2 separate regions of the Homo sapiens genome follow, and region 2 is linked to region 1. Evidence: promoter capture Hi-C in human tissues and cell types (Jung and others, 2019). All regions are on one chromosome and are shown on one strand. Each heading gives the region's core, a stretch centred on a gene start or on the middle of the fragment in contact. The rest is flanking DNA. Distances are from core to core; before and after follow the strand shown. Region 1 holds the start of KIAA1586. Region 2 overlaps DST (dystonin).

What was found. Contacts are between HindIII fragments. The study calls those that stand out against the background at their distance.
Region 2: a contact is called between a fragment that was not itself captured here and the fragment with the promoter of KIAA1586 in region 1, in 2 of the 25 tissues and cell types used here (hippocampus and small bowel).

What each region holds. Positions count from the first base shown.
Region 1 is chr6:57,045,403-57,048,317 of GRCh38, reverse strand. KIAA1586 reads right to left here and starts at 1,625. Exons shown (of 4, transcript NM_020931.4): 1 at 1,542-1,625; 2 at 922-1,005. The coding sequence starts at 1,562. RefSeq lists enhancers at 160-1,037, 1,854-1,943 and a silencer at 2,573-2,867. The HindIII fragment of the contact is 7,542 bases long and covers 1-2,370 here.
Region 2 is chr6:56,706,776-56,709,626 of GRCh38, reverse strand. The region is part of intron 5 of DST (dystonin); the gene reads left to right. Among named protein-coding and RNA genes, the nearest start is that of DST-AS1, 140 kb to the left of the region's middle. The HindIII fragment of the contact is 3,563 bases long and covers 1-2,851 here.

The sequences.
Region 1 (2,915 bases), core at 376-2,875:
AAAACACAGAAACATTAGACAGACACTCCATTAAAGAAAAATTCTACAGCCTGAATACCAAACTGCAACTAACTACGGCATTCCAAAAGACGAGTTGGGGACAGAACTGTTTTCTGCCTGGCGAGCTGAGATACCACTTTACGCAAAGCCTTTCTAAAACTCCAACAATTATGGATGAAAATCACCCCAAAATATATCATAAAACACTCCCTTCTGCTTTAGAAACCCATTCTGTCCAAAGTGTGCTCAGAAATCCTTATGTCCCTGCACTTGTCTGAAAATGAAGATTCCTAGGCCCCCGCCTGGAAATTCTGATTCGGTAGGTCTGCAGTGGGGCCCAGGAATCTGCCTGTTTATACTTACTAAGGCTTGAAAACTACTGTCTCAAAGGGAACAAACTCAGAAAAATAGAGCATGTTCCCAGTGATGTAGGATTCTTCATTATGAGCATCAACTGTACTATGCCGTAACATGATGATCTCAGAGGTTAGAGAAATCTTCAAGCTATTTGCCTTCATGTTAGAAGCACCATAACGCTAAGATTCTGGGCTCTCACAACCCTTCCTGTTTTCTACGTCCTTGCTCATCATTAGCAGCTCCTTCCTCCGTGTCGCCTTTAGAAGTTACTCTTGCTCCATTTCAAAACAGCGTTTTAGACACCAGCGTTTTTATCTTAAGTTTAAATGAAAGGCAGGGGGCGAGATTAAGTGTACAGCACGTTCTTTAGGACGTGCTCTTTGTGATGGCTACGGGGGTGGCTCAGATAGCTCTTTTGGTAAATTTCCCAATCCTGCGCCATGCTCCAGTGTCTAGTATGTATTAGACACTCATGAACATTAAATGACCAGGTGAGGTAACATTACATAATGGCCCACCATAGTCTTTTACTCTGGGAAAACCCCAATCATCATTGCTACTTACACTGACAAACTGAATGTCGTCTTCATTTTCATCCGTTGTTGACTCAGATGCCTCAGGGCCAGCTGGAGGGACAGATTCTATTATCTATAAAAACAAGCCAAAACATGCTTATCTGTTCAGCCACATTCGTGTAGGAAGAGAGCGTTTCCGAAAGGAACAATTAAAGACAGAGAGCTCTTGAGGAAAACGAACTGAGCACAATTTCACGGAAACCCGACTAGGAACGGAACTCGAGCTCTGGCTCTTGCCACAGAGTGTGCGGAGCTGCAGGGACCCAACGCTGAAAACGCGTTAGTTACCAGCCTCTCACAATTCCCCTTATCTACTCCAGGAGGAACGCAAGCTCAACACCGAAGGGCAATCCTGCCTTAAAACGTCGCTCCCACTGGCCCAGCCGCGGCCACAACGAACGCCAGGGCCCGTGCGGGGGGCCGGGCGGCCATTGTTGCTGCGGGTTCCTCGCTCAGACACGCACCAGGCCCCAGAGCTGGGCTCGGCCCAAGACACTGAAGAGGTATCGCCCCGAGGCTGCGACGGAGCACCAGGCCTCAGACCGCAGAAAACACAAACCCTTCGCGGTTCGCCTCTGAGAACGCCAGGACCCTCACTCGACTACTCACTTCCGACCCCGGGTCTCCCATGTCTCCGACGGCCGCGCTGACAGCACCACTGCTCCTGCTGTCCCTACTGCCGCAGCCGCCACCACTCCCCTTCCCGCCCTGCACCGCCTCGCGCTACCGGGACCCGCCCCTGCGTGAGCTGGGAGGCCACTGGCGGAAAGAGACGAAAACCGCTTCAAAAGAGGGGCAGCCCTCACTGGTCCGCTATCTCCCCGGAGCCTCTTTCTCTCATTCCCGGGCTTCCTTCCCCGCGCCGCAGAGGATGCTGGGATGGTAGTTCCTACCCGCCGCGCGACCGCGCCGCGCGACTGCCCCGCGCGTGGGTGAAGAATGGAAAAAGACTCTGAGCTACAGCGAAGTCGTCTCCCTTCGGTGTTGCTCTACTATAATAAAATAGCCGAGTTCTTTCTCTCACTTTTTCACAACCAAATATTCGTCTATGTAATAGATCAATGGGAATGAAAAAAAATTGTGTGTGATTTGCTCAGAAATTGCCTTACCAAAATCGTGGCTCACCTTTTTATTTTAACATTTATTCACAAATGATTTTAAACATGAAATTTATGAAAGCAAATTTTAACAGAGAATATTCTTTTAAAGCTTTTATTTGTTTACCTCTATCAGCCTAGGACCACCTGTTATTGACAAGTCTGTAGTCCCAGAAAATCACCTTTATCATTTTGACCCTGATCTACAATGCACAAAATTATACAACAAAGGAGCTATGAGGTATCTGATTAGCCAACTGATCTTCAGCAAAGCAAACAAAAACATAAAGTGGGGAAAGGACACCCTTTTCAACAAATGGTGCTGGGATAATTGGTGACCCACATGTAGAAGAATTAAACTGGATCCTCATCTCTCACCTTATACAAAAATCAACTCAAGATGCATCAAAGACTTAAATCTAAGACCCGAAGTCATAAAAATTGCTCAAGATAACACCGGAAAAATACCTTCTAGACATTGGCTTAGGCAAAGACTTCGCGATGAAGAACCCAAAAGCAAATGCAACAGAAACAAAGATAAATAGACTGAACTTAATTAAACTAAAAAGCTTCTGCACAGCAAAAAAAATAATCAGCAGAGTAAACAGACAACCCACAAAGTGGGAGAAAAGGAGAACATAGGAACAAAGGAAAACATAGACTTACTAGGATTTTAAGGAGTTGGTGAAATTTAAGTGAAGCAGTGTTTTGATAGGTTCAAAACCGTCTAGTGCTGTGTGTAAAGGGTTCAACATCACATACGGACTGCATAGCGAGCCCAGGGTCTTGTTAACTTCAAAACTACAAAGTTAACACACACAGAGTATTGTGCTCAGAAACCCCTTCCTCCGTGTAGCCATGCCCTAAGTGTGTGGATTTATTTCTG
Region 2 (2,851 bases), core at 97-2,596, 340 kb after region 1:
CCTGAATTGAATTGCAGCTAAACAATAGTAATAAGTTTAAATAATGGGAAGTCAAATTTTTGTGAAATTTGTCTAGATTAACATCAACCACTATAATGTCAGACTTTTAAAAAAGGAAGTTTAAACATTCAGCAAGCAGTTATATAATGATTCTCTTTTCTTCAAAGTTGAATTTGATTTAGCCTATATAAAACCAAACAGTTATAGGTTAACAAAAGGAAATTTTCAGTGTAGTATTTTTGATAAGTTAAGCCATTTAGGTAATACAGACCTGGCATGAGCTAATGTGTTCTCACTCCAAAATAAATTTGAAATATTGTCCATGTCATCGCCAGCATCTTGTTTAGAATTTTTGTTGCCCATAGAGTGTTTTCTAGTCTATTTTACTTTCTTGGGATATTCTTTTAAGTAAAAGATTAGTGCCCCCTAGAGGTAAACTCTAGGTGCAATGCTATATACATATTTTTTTGAAGTACTGCAAAATTCTACGAGAATTGTGTGAAATACAGAAAATGCTGTATCAGCCTTGTTATGTAATTCAAGTTATGTAAGTTAATCCCAGAGTATTTCATAGTGCTTTTACTTTGCTCGTCACTTCCTCTAGCACTATTGATCCAGACAGTTTTTTGTCCCATAGGGAGAACATATCCAAAAAGAGAAAAAGGAATGCTTTATTAAAAACTGAAAATGGAATGTTAGGGATATTGGCGGTTAGTATAGTCATCTGTGAAGGAAAGTTACCAGGCCCAATGCCTATGACTCACTCCTAGGGTAAAATAAAAGCTTTTCTATGTAGGCTTAGCTGTCTACTTTCCCTTCTTTTCTTTCCCTTAAATTTCTTGCTCGATCAGATTGGAACCCCAATTCTTTCCCCTCAGTTCATTCCCGACCACCCTTTACCCATAATGTTGATTTTTAATTTTTAATAGCATCCTCTTTTATTCCACTCATTTGTGCTGAGGAAACTGACTCAGTATTATAAAGTACTTAGCACAAGGTTAGGCATCTAGTAGTAACTCATGGTGTGTGTGTTTTTGTTTATTATTGTTAGTGACATTTGCTTTTCGGAAAATGATATCTTATATTTTGTAGGATGTTTTCCATATACAGTATTTCTGTGGACCCTCAGAATAGTCAGCTGAGACAGGAAAAGCAGGCAGTATTGGGGATAGCCAGTGTCTTTGGATTTTTTTCAAGCATTATAGAAGTTAAATTAGTTTATTTCTGCATTTTCTTCTAAAATTCTTAAAAAATTAAGCCATAAGTCTTAAGAGTAGCTTTTATTTTATACATTTTCTAAGTTGACAGGTCATTGATTTTTTAAAATGATAATAATTTGATTTAAAGATTACAGACTTTTTGTTCTCTAGGTTGAACTAGGAGTTTTCTGTTTTCCAACCTTTATTTTAAAGATAAAAAAAACCCTGAAGCCTAGAGAGTTTAGGCTGTTGGTACAAATTCATAAGGCCAAGGGCAGAAGCAGGACTAAAATGTCTTTTCCCTTATCACAGGTTTTCTCTTTTCCTAATTTAGAGGGAGTCTCACTCTTTTGCCCAGGCTGGAGTGCAGTGGCATGATCACAGCTCACTGCCACCATGCCCAGCTAACTTTTTGTATTTTTAGTAGAGATGGGGTTTTACCATCTTAGCCAGGTTGGTCTTAAACTCCTGACCTCATGATCCACCCACCTCGGCCTCCCAAAGTGCTAGGATTACAGGCGTGAGCCACCACACCCGGCCATCTTTTCCTAGTTTAGATTTGCATGGCTTAATATTATTATTTTCCTTCTCTAAACATGTCTGTTTTAATTTTCCTTTGTTGTCACATAAATACGATAGTAGCAAATGACACCTGGTTTTGGAAAGTTTCCCTTATGTAGAGGGTTTTGTTCAGTCTGGCAAGTCAAGTTGTGAAATTGCCTTACTATGAGATAAGTGTTCAGAATCATACCCCATCTTTAACTGTCCTGGAGTGAGAAAGACACAAGAAGTGGAATATAGAGTGAAATGTAAGTCTGGTAGGGTGTAGGCATAGTGGACCAGAGAGCACAGAATTCTCAGCACTATTACAATCCTGGAAGTCCCCAAAGTAATCATGTGCTTGGATTCTACTGTCCTTCTGTGTACTGAGGATATCAGACCTGCACAATAAAGCCATTTATTTTGAGAGACAAAGCAGCTGGCTGAGGATCAGGAGCTGTATAATATTGTTTATATAAATATAATCTTTTAGTGTTCCCATTCAGGCTCTTTTAGAGTTTGGCTGCTTTCTGGTTATATTGAAGATACGCAGAGAAGTACATAGATTTAGAATGTACATGACATTCACAAGCTTAGCTTTTCTGCCTTGTTTTTAAGTAGGCCTTAGCCTTATAAATTCAAGCTTGTGCCTTAGAACGGGACTGGGTGAATTCTTACAGTGCTCTAATACAAGAGTCCCCAACCCCCAGGCCACAGACAGGTACTGGTCCGGTCCATGGCCTGTTAGGAAGTGGCCTGCACAGTAGGAGGCGAGCATTGGGCCAGCCAGCCTTACCACCTGAGCTCTGCCTCCTGTCAGATCAGTGATGGCGTTAGATTCTCATAGGAGCATGAAACCTATTGTTTTGTTTGTTTGTTTTTTGAGACAGAATCTCACTCTGTTGCCCAGGCTAGAGTGCAGTGGCATGATCTCGGCTCACTGCAACCTCCGCCTCTTGGGTTCGAGTGATTCTCCTGCCTCAGCGTCCCAAGTAGCTGGGATTACAGGCATACGCCACATTGCCCGGCTAATTTTTTTTTGTTATTTTTAGTAGAGATGGGTTTTGCCATGTTGGCCAGGCTGGTCTCGAACTCCTGACCTCAAGTGATCC